2 separate regions of the Homo sapiens genome follow, and region 2 is linked to region 1. Evidence: promoter capture Hi-C in human tissues and cell types (Jung and others, 2019). All regions are on one chromosome and are shown on one strand. The core of a region is centred on a gene start or on the middle of the fragment in contact, and the rest is flanking DNA. Distances in the headings are between cores, read along the strand shown.

Region 1 (6,724 bases), core at 65-2,564:
ATGCTCGTCTGAGGACGTGCTACACCAGAATCACTCTGGTCTTAGATAAAAATATAGATTCCAGGGCCCCACTCCAAATCTTCTGGATCGGAATCTAGGAGTGGGGGACCAAGACTCTATGTTTTTAAGATGCTCCCCAGAATATTCTAATGTTCAGCCACAGTCAAAAACTGATGGTTGGAATATATGGTCTAATGGGCTTGGAAGGGAAGGAAAGGGAAGAACGGGTGTCTATTCCCGGATTTTTCACAGCAAAACTTGAAGATTTCCAAAAGTCTAATTCAGCAAAAATGATATTTCAAAGCAGACAACAAAAAAATGTGATGAATACACTTGTTCAGTCAAGGGCATCTAACATGCCAATTGGCCCTCTTCCCACATATTCCCAACACATTAAAAATACAGGTAAATCGGCCAGACACGGTGGCTCACACCTGTAATCCCAGCACTTTGGGAGGCTGAGGCAGGCGGATCTCCTGAGATCGGGAGTTCAAGACCAGCCTGACCAACATGGATAAACCCTGTCTCCACTAAAAATACAAAATTAGCCAGGTGTGGTGGCACATGCCTGTAATCCCAGCTACTCAGGAGGCTGAGGCAGGAGAATCACTTGAACCCAGGAGGCGGAGGTTGCAGTGAGCCGAGATCACACCATTGCACTCCAGCCTGGGCAACAAAGAGCAAAACTCTGTCTCAAAATAAAAAATAAAAAAAAAAAATACAGGTAAAACAAGAAACGTCTTAAAATTCACACCTACCTTCTGAGATGAGCAATCCATGTCACCCATGGTGTCCACTCTAATTGTAGCTATTTTTTTAAAATGAATAAAGAGCTTTCAGCTTCTCCAGGGATGTGCCTCTCCTATCCAGTTGGTCTGAAATTCACACTTCCTTATAGCATAATGGGGATGACACCAACAATGGAACTTTCCAGATGTTCTGAAAGCTCTGTTCATGAGGTTGCCTCTCTGAGGTCATAGACTTTGGCCCGCTGAGGAGTTCCCTGGTAAAAAAGGAGAGAAAGGGAAGCTAGAGATAAGGGGACAGCACTGGGTTTCTGCTGCGCTTTTGGCTCTGGTTCCTAGTCCCCCAGCGGTGGCCACGCTTCCTTTCCCTTGAGTGCTTCTCTCTTGGAAATTTTCCAGAAACACACTGAGTTCACTGCAGAGGAAAGACTGAAGCAGAGTTACACATTAATACAGAGAAGAGGGAGACTCACCCCTCCAAACAACATCCTGGCAGCCCGAACTGTTCTCCCTCCTCCTCCCTGGACTCTTAACACTGGCAGTGCTTGTATGCAGGCGCTGGGCACAGTAACCATGTCTCAGCGTCTGTTGCTAAGGGAAGGAGGGGCCTCTGCGGTGCCTACATACAAGACTGGGCATGACCTAGCTCTGTGAGCTGGTGTCTCCCTTTGCTGGAGGCCCAGGTGGGCAGCAGGAAGTGTTGGTGACAGAAGGGAACATGGGAAGGTGTTTAGCAATGTTCCAGGAATAACAGAGGCAACAGCAATAAAAGACCTTTGGAGACGTCGAAAAGCACAGAGTATGGTGGTTAAGTTCTTGGGATCTACAATTGGACAGGTCATACTTCAGATCCTACTCTTCTCATTAATTAGCTGTGTGGCTTGGCAAGTTGTTTAATCTCTCCAAGTGTCCTTTCCGTCTGTAAAATGGCAATAATGTGAGTCCCTACTTCATAGGGTTGCTTTGAAGGGTTAACGGGATAACGTGTACAGAGCGATTTGCATATAGTAGAAGGATAACTGATATTTTCCCAGTTTTTCCCCGTTTTTTTTTTTTTTTTTGAGACAGAGTCTTGCTCTGTTGCCCAGGCTGCAGTGCAGTGGCGTGATCTCAGCTCACTGCAAGCTCTGCCTCCCGGGTTCACACCATTCTCCTGCCTCAGCCTCCCACCAGTGCGCCCAGCTAATTTTTTGTATTTTTAGTAGAGACGGGGTTTCACCGTGTTAGCCAGGATGGTCTCAATCTCCTGACCTCGTGATCCGCCCACCTCGGCCTCCCAAAGTGTGGGATTACAGGTGTGAGCCACTGCGCCCAGCCCAGTTTTTCCCCATTTTAACACTAAGTCCTGCATCCTGGGAGCAATCTCAGTCCTGGGCAAACTGGGATAGTTTGATCACCCAACACAGTCAATGCTCTATAAATGTTGTGGCTAACATCAATATTACGATAAACACAGAAATACATGTGCACATACTCAAAAGTAACAATATTAGCTGCCGCCCGAATATTAAAAGCACATGTTCCATGGTCACTGTGAAGTTCTCTCAAAACCAAGTTAGACTTAATGAGTTTTTTGGGGGTGCCATGCTTGCATATCTTTTTTTTTCATTCAATTTCCCCCCAAACACCACGATATTCCCATTTTAAGGATAAGGAATCAAAACTGAGAGATATGGGCCAGGTATGGTGGTTCATGCCTGTAATCCCAGCACTCTGAAAGGCTGAGGTGGATGGATCACTTGAGGTCAGGAGTTTGAGACCAGCTTGGCCAACATAGTGAAACCCCATCTCTACTAAAAATACAAAATTAGCCGGGCATGGTGGTAGTCGCCTGTAATCCCAGCTACTTGGGGGGCTGAGGCAGGAGAATCGCTTGAACCTGGGAGGGAGGTTGCAGTGAGCACAGATCATGCCACTGCACCCCAGCCTGGGCAACAAGAGCGAAACTCCATCTCAAAAAAAAAGAAAAACAAACAAAAAAACTGAGAGATACATAACTTTCCTAAGTCGACTTGACTCATAAGTAGCACTGATACAATTGGAACCTGTCCTGATGACCCCGAGTCCACTGCTCTTTCCATAACCTACCTGTCCAGAACACAAACATTCCCGAGTTCCTATGAAAAGCATTGCATAGTGAGAGGTGACAGCGTGCTGGCAGTCCTCACAGCCCTCGCTCGCTCTCGGCGCCTCCTCTGCCTGGGCTCCCACTTTGGCGGCACTTGAGGAGCCCTTCAGCCCACCGCTGCACTGTGAGAGCTCCTTTCTGGGCTGGGCAAGGCCGAAGCCGGCTCCCTCAGCTTGCAGGCAGGTGTGGAGGGAGAGGCGCGAGCGGGAACCCGGGCTGCGCACGGCGCTTGCGGGCCAGCTGGAGTTCCGGGTGGGCGTGGGCTTGGCGGGCCCCGCACTGGGAGCAGCCAGCTGGCCCTGCCGGCCCCGGGCAATGAGGGGCTTAGCACCCCGGCCAGCGGCTGCGGAGGGTGTACTGGGTCCCCCAGCAGTGCTAGCCCACCGGCGCTGCGCTCCATTTCTCACCGGGCCTTAGCTGCCTTCCCGCGGGGCAGGGCTCGGGACTTGCAGCCCGCCATGCCTGAGCCTCCCACCCCCTCCGTGGGCTCCTGTGCTGCCCGAGCCTCCCCGACGAGCGCCACCCCCTGCTCCACGGCGCCCAGTCCCACCGACCACCCAAGGGCTGAGGAGTGCGGGCCCACGGCGCGGGACTGGCAGGCAGCTCCACCTGCAGCCCCGGTGCAGGAGCCACTGGGTGAAGCCAGCTGGGCTCCTGAGTCTGATGGGGACGTGGAGAACCTTTATGGCTAGCTCAGGGATTGTAAATACACCAATCAGCACCCTGAGTCTAACTCAGGGTTTGTGAATGCACCAATCGACACTCTGTATCTAGCTGCTCTGGTGGGACCTTGGAGAACCTTTATGTCTAGCTTGGGGATTGTAAATACACCAATCAGCACTCTGTATCTAGCTCAAGGTTTGTAAACACACCAATCAGCACCCTGTGTCTAGCTCAGGGTCTGTGAATGCACCAATCCACACTCTGTATCTAGCTATTCTGGTGGGGCCTTGGAGAACCTTTGTGTGGACACTCTGTGTCTAGCTAATCTGGTGGGGACTTGGAGAACCTTTGTGTCTAGCTCAGGGATTGTAAACGCACCAATCAGCACCCTGTCAAAACAGACCACTAGGCTCTACCAATCAGCAGGATGTGGGTGGGGCCAGATAAGAGCATAAAAGCAGGCTGCCCGGGCCAGCAGTGGCAAGCCGCTTGATCCCCTTCTACAACGTGGAAGGTTTGTTCTTTCACTGTTTGGGTTCATGCCGCCTTAATAGCTGTAACACTCACGGTGAAGGTCTGCAGCTTCACTCCTGCGCCAGCGAGACCAGAAACCCACCAGAAGGAAGAAACTCCGAACACATCCGAGCATCAGAAGGAACAAACTCCAGACGCGCTACCTTAAGAGCTGTAACACTCACCGCGAGGGCCCACGGCTTCATTCTTGAAGTCAGTGAGACCAAGAACCTACGAATTCCAGACACAATAGAACCAAGTACTTCCATTTTCCCCCTTTTTCTACTCCTTTTCCTCAAAGTTGGGCTTTCCATCCTTTCAAAATAACCCTGAGCTTTTCCATCTCTTATATTATGCTCTTTATCACAAAGTATACATACGGTTTCAAATAGCATTTGGAATAATTGAGACAGTGGGAGAGCTGGAGACTCTGGTTTAGACGGAAATGGGAAGATTATCAGGTCTCCTATACTGGGTGTGAAACCTCATGTCCCACCAAAAACAGCAACTGTAATCCAATGAAGTGAAAAATTAGAATGGGGCCAGGCGCGGTGGCCCATGCCTATAATCCCAGCAGCTGGGGAGGCCAAGGCGAGTGGATCGCCTGAGGTCAGGGGTTCAAGACCAACCTGGCCAACATGGTGAAACCCCGTCTCTACTAAAAATACAAAAAATTAGCCGGGCGTGGTGGCAGGCACCAGTAATCCCAGCTTCTTGGGTTGCTGAGGCAGGAGAATTGCATGAACACAGGAGGTGGAGGTTGCAGTAAGCTGAGATCACACCATTGCACTCCAGCCTGTGTGACACAGCGAGACTCTGTCTCAAAAAAAAAAAAATTAGAATGGTCCTGATGTGGAGCTAATGGACCCTATGGCCTGTGTGTGAGTAGGAGGTATGCTACCATCTGAAATTTAGTGTGTTTTAAGTCTACTAGTGTTTAAAACTATCAAAACAATACTAATGGCTTTCGCTTATTGAGCATATACTATGCCCTGGGACTGCTGCTAGGCACTTAGTAGACATCATGTCTTTGAATCTTCTCAACAACCTAGAATATAAATATCAGTATTTTCACAAGTTTTATGATTGAGGAAACTGATACATTAAACTAACCTGCCCATAGTCACACAGCTAGGTCATCAGGAAAGCTTGAACTTGGTTATGAAATCTGTTCCATGGCTTCAACCGAAAACCTACATGTAATCTGAGGAAAGGTGGAAAATAAAGTATCTGCCAAAGAGAGTGAAAGTGACTTCCCCCAGGCCACCTCACCTGTACCAGAATTGTTTGTTGTCTGACAACTTTGTGTTGGATAATTCTTAAGAAAGGATATAGGCTTCAAGTTTCTCAATCTTCTTTTTCTTTCTTTCTTTTTTTTTTTTTTTTGAGATGGAATCTTGCTCTGTTGCCCAGGCTGGAGTGCAGTGGTATGATCTCGGCTCACTGTAACCTCCACCTCCTGGGTTCAAGTGATTCTCTTGCCTCAGCCTCCCCAGTAACTGGGATTACAGGCGTGTGCTAACACACCTGGCTTATTTTTGTATTTTTAGTAGAGATGGGGTTTTGCCATGTTGGCCAGCCTGGTCTCGAACCCCTGACCTCAAGTGATCTGCCCACCTCCGCCTCCCAAAGTGCTGGGATTCAGGCATGAGCCACCATGCCCGGCCTTGTTTCTCAATTGGGCTGCCAGACAAAACAGAAGGTGCCCAGTTAAATTAGAGTTTCAGTCAAACAATTTTTCAGGTAAAAGAATGTTTTAGGGCCGGGAGCAGTGGCTCATGCCTGTAATCCCAACACTTTGGAAGGCCGAGGCAGGCGGATCACAAAGTCAGGAGTTTGAGACCAGCCTGACCAACATGGTGAAACCCTGTCTCTACTAAAAATACAAAAATTAGCTGGGCGTGGCGGCACATGCCTGTAATCCCAGCTACTCCGGAGGCTTTGGCAGGAGAATCATTTGAACCCAGGAGGTGGAGGTTGCAGTAAGCCGAGATAGCGCCACTGCACTCCAGCCTGGGAGACAGAGCAAGACTCCGTCTCAAAAAAAAAAAAAAAAAAAAAAAGTTTTAGTATAAGCATGTCCCATTCAATACATGGGCTGTACTTGTACTTGTACTAAAAAGTTACCCATTATTTACCTGAAATTCAGATTTAATTGAGTGTCGTGTGTTTTTATTTGCCAAATCTGCCAACATGGGGAGCAGAGGTCAGCAAGGTTCCAAGTTGCCCCTGCCTCTTGTTATCAAGAGTTTAGGGTCTTAATCTGTTGCTAAAAAAATTTCACACATTTCTTATTCAGAGGCTGGTATTCCTGGCAGCTCATTCCTGAGGCCTAAAATAGTTGTTTAAGCAGAGCAACAGTTTCAATCCTTGGAGGCTACTATAGCAAAGTACCAAAGTCTGGGTGGCTTATAAACAAGAGACATTTATTTCTCACTGCTCTGAAGGCTGGAAGTTCACAATCAGGGTGCCAGGGTGGTCTGGTTCCAGTGAAGGCCCCCTTCCATGTTGCAGGCTGCCAACTTCTCATTGTATCCTCACATGGTGGAAAGAGGGTAAGAGAGCTCTCTGGGAGTTATTCTTATTTTATTTTATTTTATTTTATTTTATTTTATTTTATTTATTTTATTTTATTTTATTTTATTATTTTATTTTATTTTATTTTAATGAGCCA
Region 2 (6,106 bases), core at 274-2,773, 1.4 Mb after region 1:
TGATCTTGCAAATTCTTAAGCCCACTCATCTCCTCAGCAGGAAGCCCTTCTCTGTCCCATTGCAGCCTCTTTTGTTTTCCAGCTTGGAGACAGAGAACCTGTGGGGAAGGAAGGGTGTTTTCTGTTAACAGCACGAGACCCTTACAATCAAGTTGCTGCCCTCACTTTAGAGAGATACCAGAGAGAGGCAGTGCAAGAAAAGGCACCATTTTAGCCAGGGCCTCATCTAGTTTCTACTTGGGCTTAATTTCACTTTCTTGAAGCTACAGGCTACATTGGATTTCTCCTCTACGATATTTAGCAGAGCTGAAATAAATGAATCCCTGAGCAGAAGCCAATATTCTTGCCTGATTGCTGGGACTAATTGATGTTTTGGTGGGCATTGCATTGGTTGGAAGTTAAAACATTTAACATGGCTCAACGTTAAATCAATTTAAAAATACATTTTTCAGGTGTCTTCCATTTCCTTGGGACTCAGCTGAATGGATGGCTGTGAAGTTATCATTAAACTCTCAAAATATTCCCTGTTTTTGGTGGAGATGGTGGTGGCTCTTCTGGTTTTAAGTTGCTCTGGGCTTTGGGGAATTGGTTGAAATAAAAAATAAAAGTACATTGGGTAAGTCAGTCACTGATGTGATCCTGGCGGGCTGAGAAAACTCCACCCACTGGCTCGATCCTGCTAGAATGAAGTTACTTCCGGGAATTGCCAGGATGCTTTTAGCCTTAGGTTTAGGAAGTCAGGGCTCAGGGAAGGGGGGCAGCAGTGGTGTTTGCAAACACCTTCTCGAAGACAGCATCACAGCTGCTTGTCAGGGCGTTTCCCTGGTGGCATCCTAGGTGCTTCTGTTCTGCCATCAGCACACCTTGGGTTCTCCTCCTAGTCACCTATCCACAGTAGACATCTCATCTGGAGGTAAGAAAACTGCATGTTTCCGAAAATCTTGGTGTCCCTAAAAGGCGGTGGATTTTACAAAGCGTCATGAGTAGGTGTTGCAGAGGCTGGAGTGTATTTTCAGAGGTCACGTGGTTTTATAGAAAACTAAGACTGCAGTGTGAAAGGTGTGATCCTGTGATCCTGCACGTGTTATTTAATGTCTGACTTGGTTTTCCTTCATCCTGGCAGGGAAGTAGCAGCAAATGGGTGCTCCTCAGGTACAGAACATTAATTTTTTTTGTTTTTGTTTTTGAGATGGAGCCTCACTCTGTCACCCAGGCTGGAGTGCAGTGGCATGATCTTGGTTCGCTGCAACATCCACCTCCCGGGTTCAAGTGATTCTCCTGCCTCAGCCTCCTGAGTAGCTGGGATTACAGGCATGCGCCACCATGCCCAGCTAAGTTTTGCATTTTTGGTGGAGACGGGATTTCACCATGTTGGCCAGGCTGGTCTTGAACTCCTGGCCTCAAGTGATCCGCCTGCCTTGGCCTCCTAAAGTGCTGAGATTACAGGCATGAGCCACCGTGCTTGGCCCAGAGCATTAATTTTCTTACAAACAGCAGCCCCCAGTTTAGCTGGGCTGGACCAGCTGCTTGGAGAGGGGTTCTTGATGAAAACCTGTCTGCACAGACTCCCATGAGGATGTCCTTGGATCTCAATCGGTATTCTCACTTTCTGCCAGTCTTGGATTATCCTGGACAAGAAAAAGCAAACAGTAACAAAATCCACTCTCCTGCGAGTCAGGCTTCACACTGCCGACTTCATGTAGCTTTTGTATTTCATCTCTCTTTCTGGTCATTTGTTTCTGATCTAATTCCTGTTTCTTTCCTCCCATCTTGAATAATGACTCCCATTACAGAGGTCTGACTCTGGGTCAGGCTGTCTAAGGGCTTTCACTGTGTCATTAGCTCATTTCATTGTGGCCATGCTCCTGCCAGGTAGGCACTGTTAGGATTCCCATTTACCAGATGAGGGGACTGAGTGTGAGAGAGGTTAAGGAGCTCTTGTCTAAGCTTCCCAGATAGGACAAATTTGAATCCTGACTTCTTTATCTCTGTACTGTGCTGCCTCCTGGACGGGTGTCCTTTAACTTCTCTAATAAGTCAGATCAGAGAGAGATTCTGTAAATCCCTTCACCTCCTCCTCTGGCGGGAGGACAGTTTGCCTCACAGCACATATAATTGGTGATCATCCCAGGCAGGAAGACAAATCTAGCTGATGCCCTGCAGGAACCCCAGGGTCTCAGGTTGAAATGCACCGTCCTTTGCATGCAGGAAAGCAGCAGGTCACGCTGGCAGGTGCTGCTCCCATTCACCTTTCAATGTCAGCTCTCCTGATGGATTTCTAGCCTCCATCCTTCACAGCCCTCCTCAGCTGGAGGCAGGGATCACTGGCACTTGTATGCAGATCACAGCATGTTGGCTCTGGTTCTTATCGGTCAGGACCTGTGCCATTCTGGCTTCTAAATTTTTTGAATATCACCCCAGTTAGATCCTTTTGCAGAATCTCTACCTTCAGGCCCGCTCCAGACACCAAGCCTGGCTTGATGGGGGCTGCAACTTCAGCCTAACATCCAGTGGAACTTACAATGAAGTTATCCTCTCTAGTCCTGGTACCCAGGGGTTCAGCCACAGCTGCTTGTGATGGGCTGTACTACCAAACAGAGGTTACTGTGTCTTGGGGCATGTGTGTGTTTACTCTGCTTTACTGAAGTCATGGAAGAGAGTTACAACACAGTAAACAACTTAATATTCAATACTAGGCATTTTTTGTCCTTAAAAGTCCTTTGCCCACTTTTGCCTCTTGAGGGGCCTTTAGAAATATTGGGCCAGGCCTGGTGGCTCATACCTATAATCTTAGCACTTTGGGAGGCTGAGGCAGGAGGATCACTTGAGGCCAGGAGTTCATGTCCAGCATGGGCAACATAGGGAAATCCTGTCCCTACCAAAAAAAAAGAAAAAAAGGCTGGGGGCAGTGGGTGGGTCACTCCTGTAATCCCAGTATTTTAGGAGGCTGAGGCGGGCAGGTATCTGAGCTCAGGAGTTCAAGACCAGCCTGGGCAACATGGTGAAACCTCGTCTCTAGTAAAATACAAAAAATTAGCTGGGAGTGGTTGCACGTGCCTGTAGTCCCAGCTACTTGGGAGGCTAAGCAGGAGAACTGCTTGAACCTGGGGGGTGGAGGTTGCAGTGAGCTGAGATTGCACCACTACATCTGAGTCTGGGCAACAGAGTGAGACTCTGTCTCCAAAAAAAGAAAAATTAGCCCCCGCCTGGTGGCACACACCTGTAGTCCCAGCCACTCAGGAGGCTGAAGTGGGAGGATCAGTTGAGCCCAGAATTTTGAGGCTGCAATGAACTATGATTGTGCCACTGCACTCCAGCCTGGGTGATGGAATGATCTATATCTATCTGTATATGACATATATATCTCTCATATATGAGAGATATATATGTCATATACAGAAAAGCGTAATACAAACTACCTATGGTATTGGAAGAATCCCAGGAATCGTTGGAGGTCTTGAATGAATTTGAAGAGGGTACTCAGTTCAAGACTACTTTAAGACACACATTTTGTAGATGTCCCAACTAGACACTGTGTGGCCTGGGAATATAGATGTAGATAGATATCTATATCTGTATATGAGATATATAGCTCTCATATCTTATATATATGAGATATATTTCATATATATAAGAAAATAATATATATGAGATACATATAACTCATGTATATGATAATATATCATATATAAGATAATATATGAGATATATATCAAAGATTATATTTAGATATATAATATATCTATATTATATTTAGATACATAAGCTATATATAATCTTATATATGATATATATTTCTTATAAATATATTATAACATAATATAATTGAAAAAAAGTAAACATTGCAGAATTCCCAGGCCACACAGTGTCTAGTTGGGACATCTACAAAGTGTGTGTCTTAAAGTAGTCTTGAACTGAGTACCCTCTTCAAATTCATTCAAGACCTCCAACGATTCCTGGGATTCTTCCAATACCATAGGTAGTTTGTATTACGCTTTTCTGTTGTCACTTCCCCGATTACTGATTGTTTCAGAAAGAGACATGGGCTTGGCTGATCCATGGAGATATCTGCAGCTTGCCAGCAGCTGAAGTCTTTATTTGCCTTTATCTCCGTTGTGGCCTCTGATGAGCCAGACTACAGAGATGCTGATGAAATCTGGGAGGCAATGGTGGAGGCTGTAGTTTCCCAGGAGAACTCTGGCCCTGGGGAATTCCTTCCAGTCTCTGAGTCCCTGTGGCACATCTCCATGTGTGGCGGACTAGGTGATTGCTCCTAGTGATTCTGCTTAGTTCCTTTATTAGAATTATAAGCTTTTTGCCATGTGACTTTGTAGTACATCTCAATAGGTAGAGTCTAATTCCTTGCCCTTCTAACTTTGGGCTTTGGTCATTGGAATGTGAGCAGACACATTTTCCCCCAGCAGAAGTTTTAAATGTGCTGCATGATTTGACTTGACCTCTTGGCAATTGCTTCTCATGTGAAGGGACATGTGGAGCAGACCTGAACTCAACCCAAACCTTGGAGCCAAGCTGAGCTCAGCAGAACCTAGCTGAGCTCAGCCAAGCCAAACCCAGTGTAATCACAGCCAACCTGAAGACTCAGAAGCAAGAAACAAATATTTGTTATAGGGATCTATTGGGATTTGAGAGCTATTTCTCTTTTTTTAAGTTATTGTTATTTTTTGAGATGGAGTCTCACTTTGTCACCCAGGCTGGAGTGCAGTGGAGTGATCTCGGCTCACTGCAACCTCTGCCTCCTGGGTTCAAGCACCACTAGTGCCTCAGCCTCCCGAGTATCTGGGATTACAGGCAGTGCCACCTTGCTTGGCTAATTTTTGTATTTTTTGGTAGAGACAGGGTTTCGCCATGATGGCCAGGCTGGTCTCAAACTCCTGACCTCAGGTAATCCACCCGCCTTAGCCTCCCAAAGTGCTGGGGTTATAGGCATGAGCCACCGTGCCAGGCCTAGGGAGTTCCTTGTTATTGTAGCAAAAGCTGTCTTATATATCATGTCATTAACATGCCCACCTTACACAGTGCTGGTCCCATTCTGATGACAGGAAGATGATACATTTTATCCTTTACCCTTACCATCATTTACTATGTACACTATGCCCATTTGTCAAGCTCTTCTGCCTCCAAAAAGTGCTATGGTACTTGATACCTAATAATGGTCTTTAACTTCTGTCATGCACCCATTTATTTCCCATCTTCAAGACCAAGGGTCCTAGAAATCACAGGAAAGCTGGGGTCAGAACTTATACTCATAACATGGTTGTTCCACCTACTTTGCCATGGCAGACTTTGTATCTCATGGCTCACTTAACTACTTCCCTTGAGCACTCACTGTTCTAACACTCATTTCCCCCAAATCTACAACTTAGCTTCTCTCCCTGGTGCAGTCAAGGCCCTTTTACCTGGAGTCTCCCAGAAGGATTTTCAGGTCATGTGCTATATTAGCTCATCCTTAGGGAAGAACGTTCCAATTGAAGAAGCCATCTGACTCTCCCCCAGGTGTGTGGTCATCTTCTTTGCTCATGCTGGAAGATGGAAGACCCTTTGAAGTAACTTAGTTCAACAAATCTGCCCTTAAGTTGTCTTCCCCCTGGGGATCTGCCCCATCTTCGTCTTCTCCCTGCCACACCAGGTTCATTGAGAGCTCACTCTCCCCCACGGTCCTCTCTCATGTTCCCTGGCATCTTGCAACAGGGAACTTGAGATGCTGATGGGCAGTTGGGTGGATTCTCAATGGTGGCCAGTCCAGCTCCAGGACCTGCCATACTGGAAAGGGTTTGGGGTTGGAGGAATCGGCATGACAACTCACCAGCCTGTATTCCACCCGAATGTAAGCTTCTGTGGGCAGGAGGCTCATCTGTCTTGTTCGCTGCCGTGTTGCTACTGCCAAGCAGTCCCCAGTAGGCTGGTCATGGCTGGTGTCCATTACATATTTGTGCAGCGTATGGGTGAACATACACACATCCTTTCTGAAACAAAATTGAACTCAGTAGGACACTCACTCAGGCAAAGTTTGGGAAGCTTTAGATCCATTCTGGAGGAGGGGGGAGATAGAATCAGAATATATTCATTTAACAAACATTTATGGAGA

The links. Contacts are between HindIII fragments. The study calls those that stand out against the background at their distance.
Region 2: a fragment that was not itself captured here is called in contact with the fragment with the promoter of DNAH3 in region 1 in 1 of the 25 tissues and cell types used here (lymphoblastoid cells).

What each region holds. Positions count from the first base shown.
Region 1 is chr16:21,149,532-21,156,255 of GRCh38, forward strand. It overlaps DNAH3 (dynein axonemal heavy chain 3), which reads right to left and starts at 1,315. Exons shown (of 62, transcript NM_001347886.2): 1 at 1,220-1,315; 2 at 759-1,003. The coding sequence starts at 788. RefSeq lists an enhancer at 3,477-3,771. The HindIII fragment of the contact is 16,051 bases long and covers 1-6,724 here.
Region 2 is chr16:22,577,562-22,583,667 of GRCh38, forward strand. It overlaps LOC112268175 (a long non-coding RNA gene), which reads right to left. Exons shown (of 4, transcript XR_002957911.2): 2 at 5,825-5,984; 3 at 5,418-5,540; 4 at 1-98. Among named protein-coding and RNA genes, the nearest start is that of LINC02890, 33 kb to the right of the region's middle. RefSeq lists an enhancer at 4,621-5,121. The HindIII fragment of the contact is 3,211 bases long and covers 1-3,129 here.